Regions from separate parts of the Homo sapiens genome. Here region 1 is linked to region 2. Evidence: promoter capture Hi-C in 16 types of primary human blood cells and fetal thymus (Javierre and others, 2016). All regions are on one chromosome and are shown on one strand. The core of a region is centred on a gene start or on the middle of the fragment in contact, and the rest is flanking DNA. Distances in the headings are between cores, read along the strand shown.

Region 1 (5,545 bases), core at 139-2,638, about 12 Mb after region 2:
GGCACAATGGTATGTGCCTATAGTCGCAGCTACACGGGAGGCTAAGGCAGGAGGATTGCTTGAGCACAGGAGTTTAAAGCTACAGTGTACCATGATCTTGCCTGTGAATAGCCACTATACTCCAGCCTGACCAACACAATAAGACCCTCTCTTAAAAAAAAAAAAAAAATTAGTAATATACATGTAGTACATTTACGCTCATTTTTTAAAACACAAAATAATATCAAAAGACAGTTACAAAAATATAATGAAGATACAAAACATGTATGTGAATACTACCTATATGAGGATGATAATTTCCTCTAGAAGGGAAGGGAAAAGAAAAAGGGAAAGGACTTGAGATGTAACATTTTGCATAAAAACAAAAAGAGCTAGCTGATACAGGTTTATTATATTGTCAATAATTCTCAGTATGTTTATATTTCATAATTAAAAGAACTTTTTTAAAAAAAGAAGAAAAAGTCACTTGAAACAAATACTGACCCCAAAACCTTTGGGTTTAATTACCATAAACTCAAGAGCACAAATTGAACTATAATCTTTTTGAAAGCAGCATATCATGAGACAGATGAATCACTTAATGGTGCATTTGCAACCTGTACAATGATTCAAGGAAAAAGGCTTCTCAGGAGGAAGGGAGACAAAAAGATACCTACTTCTGATGCCTGATCATAAGGTTCTCACACAGAGGACAGGGCTTGTAGCAGAGTTAACTTTTTGAGTCTTCCTTCTCAATAAATAAAAAAAAGAATTATCAAGCAGCAACCTGAACAAGACAAGCTTGACACCTCATCCAAGGGTGTTCAGGACTAACAAGCTGTCGCCTAGAGAAGTCAGAAAACACAGCCCACCTCCCACACTCCTATCCTCTCCTTCCACTCTCTCTTCCTACTCATTGCTCTATCCTATCATATCCCACACCCACAAAAAAAGTGACACAATTAAGTATAGAAATTGTAAATATGCATACATATATACATGTATGCACATACACACACACATACATAGAGTAAAAGCAGAAAGACGTTGGAGCAAGTCCTAGAGAACGCCAAAGGTCTCTTTTATGGAACTATATTATCTCTGGAACTTTACGACAAGATATCCTCAACGAAGAAGCAATCTATGTAAATAATTCTATAAAACAATTCCTACACATGTATCTAAAAGCAGAATTATAACTTTTTTGTCATAATAATAATTTCTTTGTTCTTTCTAAAGCTGGAAATTAGCATCATCCCTGCAAATATACTTAACACTCAAGGAATTAAAAAATATACAAGAACTGAAACCTAAAGAACCTTCTCTGATATACAGCAGTTGAATATTAACCACAAGTGAGATGACATGACAAGAACAAAAATGTATTTTAAAAGATATGCAGGCTACAGATGCTTCATATGGACATTCAAGATAAGCCTGAGAATAGTCATCAGAGGAAGCAGAAATTGTCATGAGACATTCTTAATAGTAACTAAGGGAACAAAAACTACCCTAAGTCTACTGAGATATCTTGTCAGATTCTACCTAAATGTTTGAAATGTCTCATACTGAGTTTGCCTGAATGTCAGCAACTTTATCATGATCTAGAATTCAATTATGAAAACAAATCATATATAGAACAATATTGTTTATATTTGATGTTCATACTGTTTCTCTGAAGAACCGAAGACTCACCTGTACCAGATGTATTGGCGTAAAAATAATAAACGATCTGTAATCAAAAGAAATGGCAAAGCCAAATATAAATCAGCTGTTAAGAATCATTTTCAAATTAGATTTATAGATGAGAAATCTAAAATATACTACAGAGCGAGTCATTAAAAAAAATAAAGAACTCAAGTCTTAAAATGAGAGACTAAATATAACCTAATATACACTGTAACATTTACAGGGTCATATACTTATTAAATTCCATGTTTGTGTGTTATTCAAAAGTTTCAAGTATTTCCTAACTGTTCAAGAAATAAAAGCAGTTTGAGATGTTAAATTTAATCTAAGAAGCTTTCATGAAACCATGGACTAGAAGTTATAATAATCACCCCTTAGAAACCAAAATATTTGTATAAAAAATTAAAGCAAGATATATTTTACACTTTATAGCAAAGATTTTTAAAACAGTAATACCTAAAATGGGAAAGCCCACGGAAAACAAAACCTCTAACACGCTATAAAAAACAATGCTTTCTATCATCCTAAATGTACATGTATGTGTGTACCTGTGTATGCAGTTAGGTATATATCAATGGAAAAATATCTAAAGAATAACAGATTCTCTCTAGGTGGTATGAGGACAAATTTTTTTCTAATTTGTAGTTATCTATAGTGTCTGTATTTTCTACAATGAATTTTTATTATTTGTACACATTTTCTAAATTCTCAAAATTTAAAAGCATTTGTCATTATGAAAACTGAATATGCTAGTGCTTCTTGTATCAGAAGATAAAATTAACTATAATTAACTGTAATTTTATCAGAAGATAAAAGGATAATCAGAAGATTACAGTTAATTTCAAGTACTTAACTTCTGTGAAAATGAATTTTCTCTTTATAAGGAACTTAAATTCACTGGTATAAGGATGGACTTTGAAGCCAGAAAGACATGCAGTCAAATTCCAAATGAATGACCTTGAGCAAGTTTTCTTATCTAAAATCATAAAGGAGTAACGGCACCTTTCTGGTCTGATAAAAGGACTCTATTAATGAATATGGTAAACCCGTCATGGCACCAGCTCAGTAAACCTAGTGCTCAATCCTTTCTCAGACTCTTGTTAGTTCATACGTAAAATTTGTCAGGAGTTAAATGAATACCCTGGCTTATCAAATCTGTAATTTGAGTATCTCTGACCAGATCTATCTGAAACACCACATAGACCTCTTAAAATAGTCTCTCAGTGTATTTTCACCTTCAACATCCACTGACTTTCTGAGACTCATACTGGCTTTGACCTTCATTCCTTCTAGAACAGCGTCCCCCAACCTTTTTGGCACCAGGGACTGGTTTTGTGGAAGACAATTTTTCCATGCAACCTAGATCCCTCACACGTGCAGTTCACAATAGGGTTTGCACTTCCCTGATAATCTAATGCTGCCGCTTATCTGACAGGAAGTGGAGCTCAGGTGGTAATGCTCACTCACCCATCGCTCACCTCCTGCTATGCAGCCTGTTTCCTAACAGACCACAGACTGGTACCAGTCCATGGCCCAGGAATTGAGGACACCTGTTCTAGAATACATCCATAATGGTTAAACCAAAGCTATATACTTTAGCTCTAAGCTGCATTAGAGCTAAAAACGTGCATGCGTAAATATACAAATGTATACATATACATACATATGTGTGTATATATAAATATATATATAATTAAACTCAGATAACACACATTACTTTTATTAGGCTCCACATCAGAAGTCTAAAGAACACATTTTAACTGTTAACCATATCATTACTGTAGAGAAATAAGCTATATTTACCTCGAATTGCTTTCGTGATGATAAAGGATGCACCATGTTTTTGGTTGCCTCTAGGCTGGAATTTAAAACAAAAAACACTTACATTTGAATCTTCTAGTAGTATTAGACCAGTATTACTTATACAATATGTAAACTTATTTTTATTTACTAATACTCAGAGTTTTGGGCACAGGGAAGCAGTGTCTTAAAACTACTTAAAGACTGGATGTTCAGGTGCAGTGGCTCACGCCTGTAATCTCAGCACTTTGGGATGCCAAGGTGGGCTGACTGCTTGAGCCCAGGAGCTCCAGACCTGCCTGAGCAACGTGGCAAAACCTCATCTCTACAAAAAATACAAAAATTGGCCAGGCATGGCGGTGCATGCCTATAGTCCCAGCTACTTGGGAAGCTGAGGTGACCCAGGAGGTTGAAGCTACGAAGCTACAGTGAGCCCTGATCATGCCACTGCACTCCAGCCTGGGTGACAGAGTGAGACCCTGCCTCAAAAAAAAAAAAAAAAAAAAAAAAAGTAGACACAGGACGCGGGACAATAGGAGAAAAGTGAGCATAGCAGAGCTACAGGCACATGTCAGGACTAACCTTGCAGGAAAGAACAAGGATTGAAGCTGGAAACTGTTTCCAAATCAAAAACCAATCCAAAGACAAGAGAAGTCAAGGCCAAAGACCATACTGGTTGCCAGTTCAGCATACTCTATTGAGGCTGTAAGTTTTGCTCACAGGAAAAGTGGTCATATCTCCAAGGCCAATTCATTGACTATCTGTTGTGTATCTATACAGACAATGCTACTAACAAAACATACACAGATACGTAATTGCTATATTAAATAATTCCATTCCATAAGTATAGACTGAACACACCGTGGGTAGGTTCATGACGCTAGGCACTGCATAAGATGCACTAAAGTGCTGTCAAGAAAAGCACAATGGACATACAGTAAGTGTAGACAGATTTTTTTAAAAAACACAGAAAAGTTATTTCACTCAATAAACATGAATTGATTGTTGGATTCATGCAAGACACAATTTGGCCCTGGGAAGAGATATAAAGATGAATCAGATGTCTGCCCTCCAAGAGCTTATAATTCAACAGCTGAAATCAACAGAATGCAGAAATCGATAGAATGCAGAAATCAATTGAACTCCCCCACCCCCAACACACAAACACAAAACAAAGTGCTAAGGGTTTCAAAGTAAGTTAATTCTGTGGTTACTTTTTTGGAATCAATTTATGGTAAGCATTCTGAAACATTACTGCAATTAACCAATGAGTGTTAAGGAGTGGAAACTTATCTAACCAGCTGCCTCAGCAACAGCTTCCTAGCTGCATAACCCAAAAAATATTCACATTAAGACAAACTAAGTACTTGAAATTAAACAGTAATATATGCAGATCTCTACCCGTCTACAAAATAAATTATTCATGATAAGCACAAACTGCAGTGGGAAGGAGGCTACAGAGGAAAAAAATACAAACTTTGGGCTGAAAAATGAGTCGTTTCTCCAGCAAAGAAACACTCAGAAAAAATGTAAGATAACTCACATGGGCTGGACTACATAATCTTTAATAAAGGTTCTTTTCGATCTGGCTGCTTCCTCTGGGTCTAAAACAGTAACTGGCACGTGTTAAGCACTCAATAAATATCTGTTAAATAAACATGGATCCAAAAAATAATAATAATAAAAAATAAAATAAAATAAACATGGATCCATGGTTCCTACTCTTCATCACAGACCCGGGAGGCCTTCACTACCAAACAACTGATAATCCCAAGATCCAGTCCATAAATTATCAACCTCTATAACCCTTCTGTAGCGGAGATCCCAATCCCAGTCAGCAGCTCTTTACTCTGCACTTCCGTGGCATTTTGCTCACATCGCTAACTATAGCGCATAAAACGCTAGGTTATGAAAAACGTTTACGGGACTGTCTCCCCTCTAGACGAGAAGCTCCACGAAAACATATTCATCTCTGTATCCTTAGCACCTAGCACAGCACCTGTGACACCGAGACAGACGAACGGACACGCACACCCTTATTAAATGCTCTTTTATTGAAACACACAAGACCTGGCGC
Region 2 (5,594 bases), core at 44-2,543:
AGATAAAAGCCAGGTCGAAAAGTGCATGTGGAGTAAGGAAATGGACCTAGTTCGACAAAAGGGCTCAGAACGACTGCCCAGATGAGATTGTAGACGCAGCTGTAGTTTACTTTCTATCTGGAAGAAACTTCAAGTTATCCTTAATTTTCCAAGGAGACAGTCACTTACCTTTTAAAAAACATTATTAGAGAAGCACCGGGCGGGAGCATATCTAGCATTAAAAATGTGGGATGAATACCATCTCTGCTTGGTAAAGGTGGTTGGGAATCCTGAGAGAGGGCACCTAGTGTGGCTTCTGCATTTTTCACAGTGCCTGGACCACGGCTGAAAGTAACTCTTGCATGACATTTGACAGAAGAGGAAACCGAAGCTCAGATTAAATTCCCTGTCCACAGCGGGATCATTCGGCACGAGTTCCTCCCTGTCTGGAATGCTCTTCCCCAGCAATAGATCCTGCGGCTCTTCCGTGTCTCAGTCTAATGTCATTCCGTTCCAGGATTCCCGACTTCTTAAAGCATAAATAATCCCTCCCCACCCTCTCATTGTACTGTTATGTAAGTTATTACAATATGTCATTATATATTTAGTCATACTGCTTTAGGTAATGTCTTCTCCACTGAACTGTAAGCTCCATGAGGGCAAGAGTTCAGTCGGTTTTACTTAATAATTAGCACCTAGTACAGTACTAGCATAGAATGAAGGCCTCGCAATTTTTTTTAAATTTATTTTTAGACAGGGTCTTGCGCTGTCGCCCAGGCTGGAGTGCAGTGGTGCAACCTCGGCTCACGGCAGCCTCGACCTTTCGGCTCCAGCGATCCTCCCGCGTCGGCCTCCGGGGTAGCTGGGACTGCAGGCGCGCACCACCATGACTGGCTAATTTTTTTTTTTTTTTTTTTGTAGACATGGGGTCTCGCCATGTTGCCCAGGCTGGTTCCTGAGCTCAAGTGATCCTCCTGCCTCGGCCTCCCAAAGTGCTGGGATTACAGGCGTGAGCCTCAGCGCCCAGCCAAGTTAGCCTTTTTTAAACGTCCTGTCTCCGGAGGTTGCCGAAGTTGGTTTTCTTCGGCCTCCTTCTCTCTCCCAGGCCCAGGGCTGGGACGAGGCCGGTTCCCGCCTGCAACCTGCACTGAAGACGGGAACCTTGGGAGCCGGTACCGGAACGCTCGGAAACGGCACCAAAGTACGAATCCTAGGGCGGAAAAGCGTTACCAAGACACTCGTCCCCAGAGCCGCTTCCTGGGACTCTCTAGCCTCCTACCGCTTCTCAGTGATGTTCCGGTTTCCGCCCTCCTCCTCGCGCTGTTTCCGCCTCTTGCCTTCGGACGCCGGATTTTGACGTGCTCTCGCGAGATTTGGGTCTCTTCCTAAGCCGGCGCTCGGCAAGGTAGGTTGGCGGCCTGCTCTCCGACAGAACTTTTCTTCTTGGGTTGAGGAAAACGCCTTTTGGAGTCAGGCCCTGGAGGGGCGAGCCTTGCTCACAGGGTGGGGATACAGCCGATTACCCGCCCTGTGCTTTCCGATGGCTTCTGCGGGGCGAGCGGGGCCTGGCCGGGGGGTGCGGGCGGGAGGGCGAGCCAGCGGCGCCTGCAGCCCGGGCCGCGTAACGCTGACCGCTGTGCCTTCAGTTCTCCCAGGAGAAAGCCATGTTCAGTTCGAGCGCCAAGATCGTGAAGCCCAATGGCGAGAAGCCGGACGAGTTCGAGTCCGGCATCTCCCAGGTGAGAGGGTTTCCCTGGGGTCTGGGGTGGGGGGAGGCGCCCCGCCCGGGAGGGGAGGCGGCCGCGCGTGTGTTGGGCCCGGGGTGCTCGGACGCGCGCTCAGGGTCGGTCCTGCTGTTCGTTGCTTCTTAGGCTCTTCTGGAGCTGGAGATGAACTCGGACCTCAAGGCTCAGCTCAGGGAGCTGAATATTACGGCAGCTAAGGTAAGCTGGCGCTCCCTCGGCTGGGAGGGAGGTTGCGGCGCGTCTCCCCGCGCAGTGCCTGAGAGGGTTGGACCTGGGTTACGGTTGATGATGACTTGCCGCCTGGCCGCCTAACCTGAACTCAGGTTCGGCCGTGTTGTTTGGGAGTGATACCGCCCAGGTGCGGGGAGTGGGGTTGCAGGTACCCTGCGGCTTAAGCTGTCCACATGCGGGCGGTGGAGAAACGTGGAGTAGGGAGGGCCTGGGCCCATTTCGGACCTTATTTGCCCTTACTTAGTTATAGATACGGCAAAGAGCTGTGGGGAGCTCAGGATGAGATTCTCTCTACCCTTAGCCCGGAGTTGCCGCAAGTGGGGGTGCAGAAGTGGTAGTGATTGGCCTCCTGGCCTGAACAGTCTCCCTTCCTGGAATAAGGAAATGTGAAGGTTGGAGAGAGATGAGAACATTTCCGAAGGATGCATTTATGATTAACTCAAAACTAGTATTAGTTTGTAGTGCAGCTACGGTGTTAGTGATAAGGTCTTCTTATCCTCTAATTTGACCACAACGTTTACTTTCTGAAGCAGTTAACACAGTGGATTTTTGTTTTTTTCTTTAGGAAATTGAAGTTGGTGGTGGTCGGAAAGCTATCATAATCTTTGTTCCCGTTCCTCAACTGAAATCTTTCCAGAAAATCCAAGTCCGGCTAGTACGCGAATTGGAGAAAAAGTTCAGTGGGAAGCATGTCGTCTTTATCGCTCAGGTATCTGTTCTACTGTTGCAGCACGTTTCTGTTTGTGAATTTTGCTAAAATTGCTTGTATTTAGACTGCATTGGTAGTTGGAGTCATGAAAACAATCCTTTTATGAATCCAATTGGGTAGAAAGATAAAGTACAGGCAGAGCGCCGTGGCTTAGGCCTGTAATCCCAGCACGGGGAGGTGGAGGCGGGTGGATCACTGTAGAGACCAGCCTGGGCAACATGGTAAGACCCTGTCTACAAAAAATAGAAAAAATAAGTTTTAAAAAGAAAGATAAAGTACGTTCTTTAATTAAGAGTCGAAACAAGAAGTCTGTAAAGTGACAGACTGCTGTGTTTTGAGTTATGAAAATGATTTCCCATATTTAAATTTCCACAAGTCTAGTGGGTTGCTTACATAGATGATCAAACTAAGAAACCTGTTACAGGCCGGGCCCTGTGGCTCACTCCTGTAATCCCAGCACTTTGGGAGGCTGAGGCAGGCGGATCACGAGGTCAGGAGATCGAGACCATCCTGGCTGACACGGTGAAACCCCGTCTGTACTAAAAAATACAAAAAATTAGCTGGGCGTGGTGGTGGGCGCCTGTAGTCCCAGCTACTCGGGAGGCTGAGGCAGGAGAATCGCGTGAACCCGGGAGGTGGAGCTTGCAGTGAGCCGAGATCCCGCCACTGAACTTCAGCCTGGGCGACAGAGCGAGACTCCATCTCAAAAAAAGAAGAAACCTGTTACAGTTCGGATGGGGGATTGGTGCAAACTGAAGTCTATGGGGAATGAAGTGCCAGGATTGATCTGGAATAAAAGTAGTATTCTGGGTCATAGGCATGGGGAAAGGCGTATCTGGGAGATTTTGTCCACTGGCGTATTAGTAGAGGCTGTGGATTCTGAATGATTTATTCAAGAATCAGGAAGTAACTCCATAGAAGGGTTTGCTCAGTCAATTGTTCGTCTAAGTTGTTTAGCCTTCTCGAACTTTGAACTTACCCTGCCATTCTTCTTGCTTTTAAAGCAGTATGGCAGTTACAGCTTTTTGTCAATTTAAAGTCTTTTTTCATTTTGTTACATGATAATTTTTACCTTACAGAGGAGAATTCTGCCTAAGCCAACTCGAAAAAGCCGTACAAAAAATAAGCAAAAGCGTCCCAGGAGGTGAGTATTTTAGTAGTTTCAGAAATGTGTGTACCCCTCTTATTAACAACTCTTAATTTGTTTAAGTTGTAGTTTATGAAAACAGATGTTCAAGTGGGAATTTTTGAGTAGCAGCATTTGGTTTCCTGTATAGTTGCACATGATACGTTTTAGAATTCTAGATGTAAAACATACATGTATTCATGTAGCCATTGTTTGCCTACTAGGTCAGTGCTGTCACAAGATGAGATGATTTCCTCCGATTATTTGTGCACAGGATAGGAATGATGAGAAGGAAATCATTACTTTAATTCTGTGATATAGCATGCTAGACACAGTTGACATGGGCTTGGATTTATCTTTGATTTTTATTTTTGCTGTGGATTGGAGGTAAAAAAATGTAGGTGGATTTTGGTGATAACATCACAGGTTAAAATATCACTGCAGTTGAAGATGCTGATGGAAAATGATTTATGAACTTGATTGACTTACAGGTTATCTGGCATAAACTCAAATATTGGTAGTTGTCTTCTTGAACTAGATCTTTTGGTATTTTGTTAGTCTCTGATTAGTATGTTGTTTTACAAATGTGAACTATTAAATCCCTGTGGACTCTTCCCTAAGGATGAGTTGAAGAAAAAAAAAATCCTAGTGTTGCCTGTGCCCTCTAACATGTTTAATTTGTATTGTTACTCTCAGTGGATGAGGAAACTGATCCAAGGCTGGGATAATTTGCTGATTGCAGCTAGTACTAGTAGTGCTAAGAATGTTTTTTTTTTAACTCGGTCTTGTTCTGAAAACCACTAGAACACAGTGTTGGGAGTCTGGTAATGTGTTATTGTGTCGAGCTGTGGTATGTGGAAAGGTAGGTGCCAGCTTTTCTAGAACTTGAATTCTATGGCTTAGTACTTTGAAAAACTTTTAAAGGCAGAGTGGCATAAGAATTTAGGATTTTTTTCCCCTAAATCATGACACTTAAAGAGGGTTTTGGAAACTCAGTTCTGAGAACCTCAGTTAGGAAATGAGTATAAGAACAGTCCCAGAGGACTGTCCCTCAAATCCATAGCTTTAGTTTCCCTCAGTACAAACCTCTGTTTTCCAAATTTTCTCAGACAATGGCTTCAGTGTTTCTAGTGGGACCTAGTCTGTACATTGAAAGCCTTCACACTAAGCCTAGCTGGTAGGTCATAGTGATTCTACCACTTTTCCAATCCGGCTTCCTGCTTTCAGATTTATTTTCCCTATTCAGTAGAGCTATCTTTATCTAACTCAGGTTAAATGCTGAAATTGATAGTTTTTGGGTATAGCAGGGTTTTTCCTCTAAAGCGCTCCAGTCCCTGTGGTTTGTGATGATTGAGTTATGGTGCCATTGCTCCCCATTTTAAAAGATTGTAGATGACATTGGAATCTAATTTCCGTATTTGGGTGCTTTCCTAGTATTGTAAGAATATGCTTAATTAATGAGTCGCAATGAATAATCCGTTTGTCTTGATTTGCTTTCTGAAAGGTGATGAGGGTTTTGGGAAATGGACTTTGTTCAGGCTTTTGCCCTTTGTGGCTGTGACATATTAAGATGTTGGCAGTAAAATTGAGAGCCACCAGAAGATGTTAACTGTGTATATGGGCGCTGCCAGATAGGAAATCCAAATGAGTAGACTATAGTGTTATTGTTAGCTACTATGGGGTGAGACGTAGACAGATAACCATATGTAAGGCAGCTCCCTAAATGCTGAAACAAAGAACCGTCTCTTGACTTACTCCTGATGTCTCATGGTACATGGTAGCTGCCCCAAAAGCTTGCAATTAA

Evidence for each region. Contacts are between HindIII fragments. The CHiCAGO score rates a contact against its expected background, and 5 or more counts as called.
Region 1: a contact is called between a fragment that was not itself captured here and the fragment with the promoter of RPS7 in region 2, in 1 of 17 cell types (monocytes). The highest score is 7.3, in monocytes.

The regions. Positions count from the first base shown.
Region 1 is chr2:15,555,109-15,560,653 of GRCh38, forward strand. It overlaps NBAS (NBAS subunit of NRZ tethering complex), which reads right to left. Exons shown (of 52, transcript NM_015909.4): 2 at 3,472-3,526; 3 at 1,675-1,711. Among named protein-coding and RNA genes, the nearest start is that of NBAS, 3.5 kb to the right of the region's middle. The HindIII fragment of the contact is 1,221 bases long and covers 779-1,999 here.
Region 2 is chr2:3,573,967-3,579,560 of GRCh38, forward strand. RPS7 (ribosomal protein S7) reads left to right here and starts at 1,294. Exons shown (of 7, transcript NM_001011.4): 1 at 1,294-1,384; 2 at 1,626-1,718; 3 at 1,851-1,922; 4 at 2,521-2,664; 5 at 3,744-3,808. The coding sequence starts at 1,644. LOC124907726 (a long non-coding RNA gene) reads right to left here and starts at 1,143. Exons shown (of 2, transcript XR_007086196.1): 1 at 169-1,143. RefSeq lists enhancers at 847-1,422, 1,423-1,999 and a silencer at 1,551-1,840. The HindIII fragment of the contact is 5,628 bases long and covers 1-5,581 here.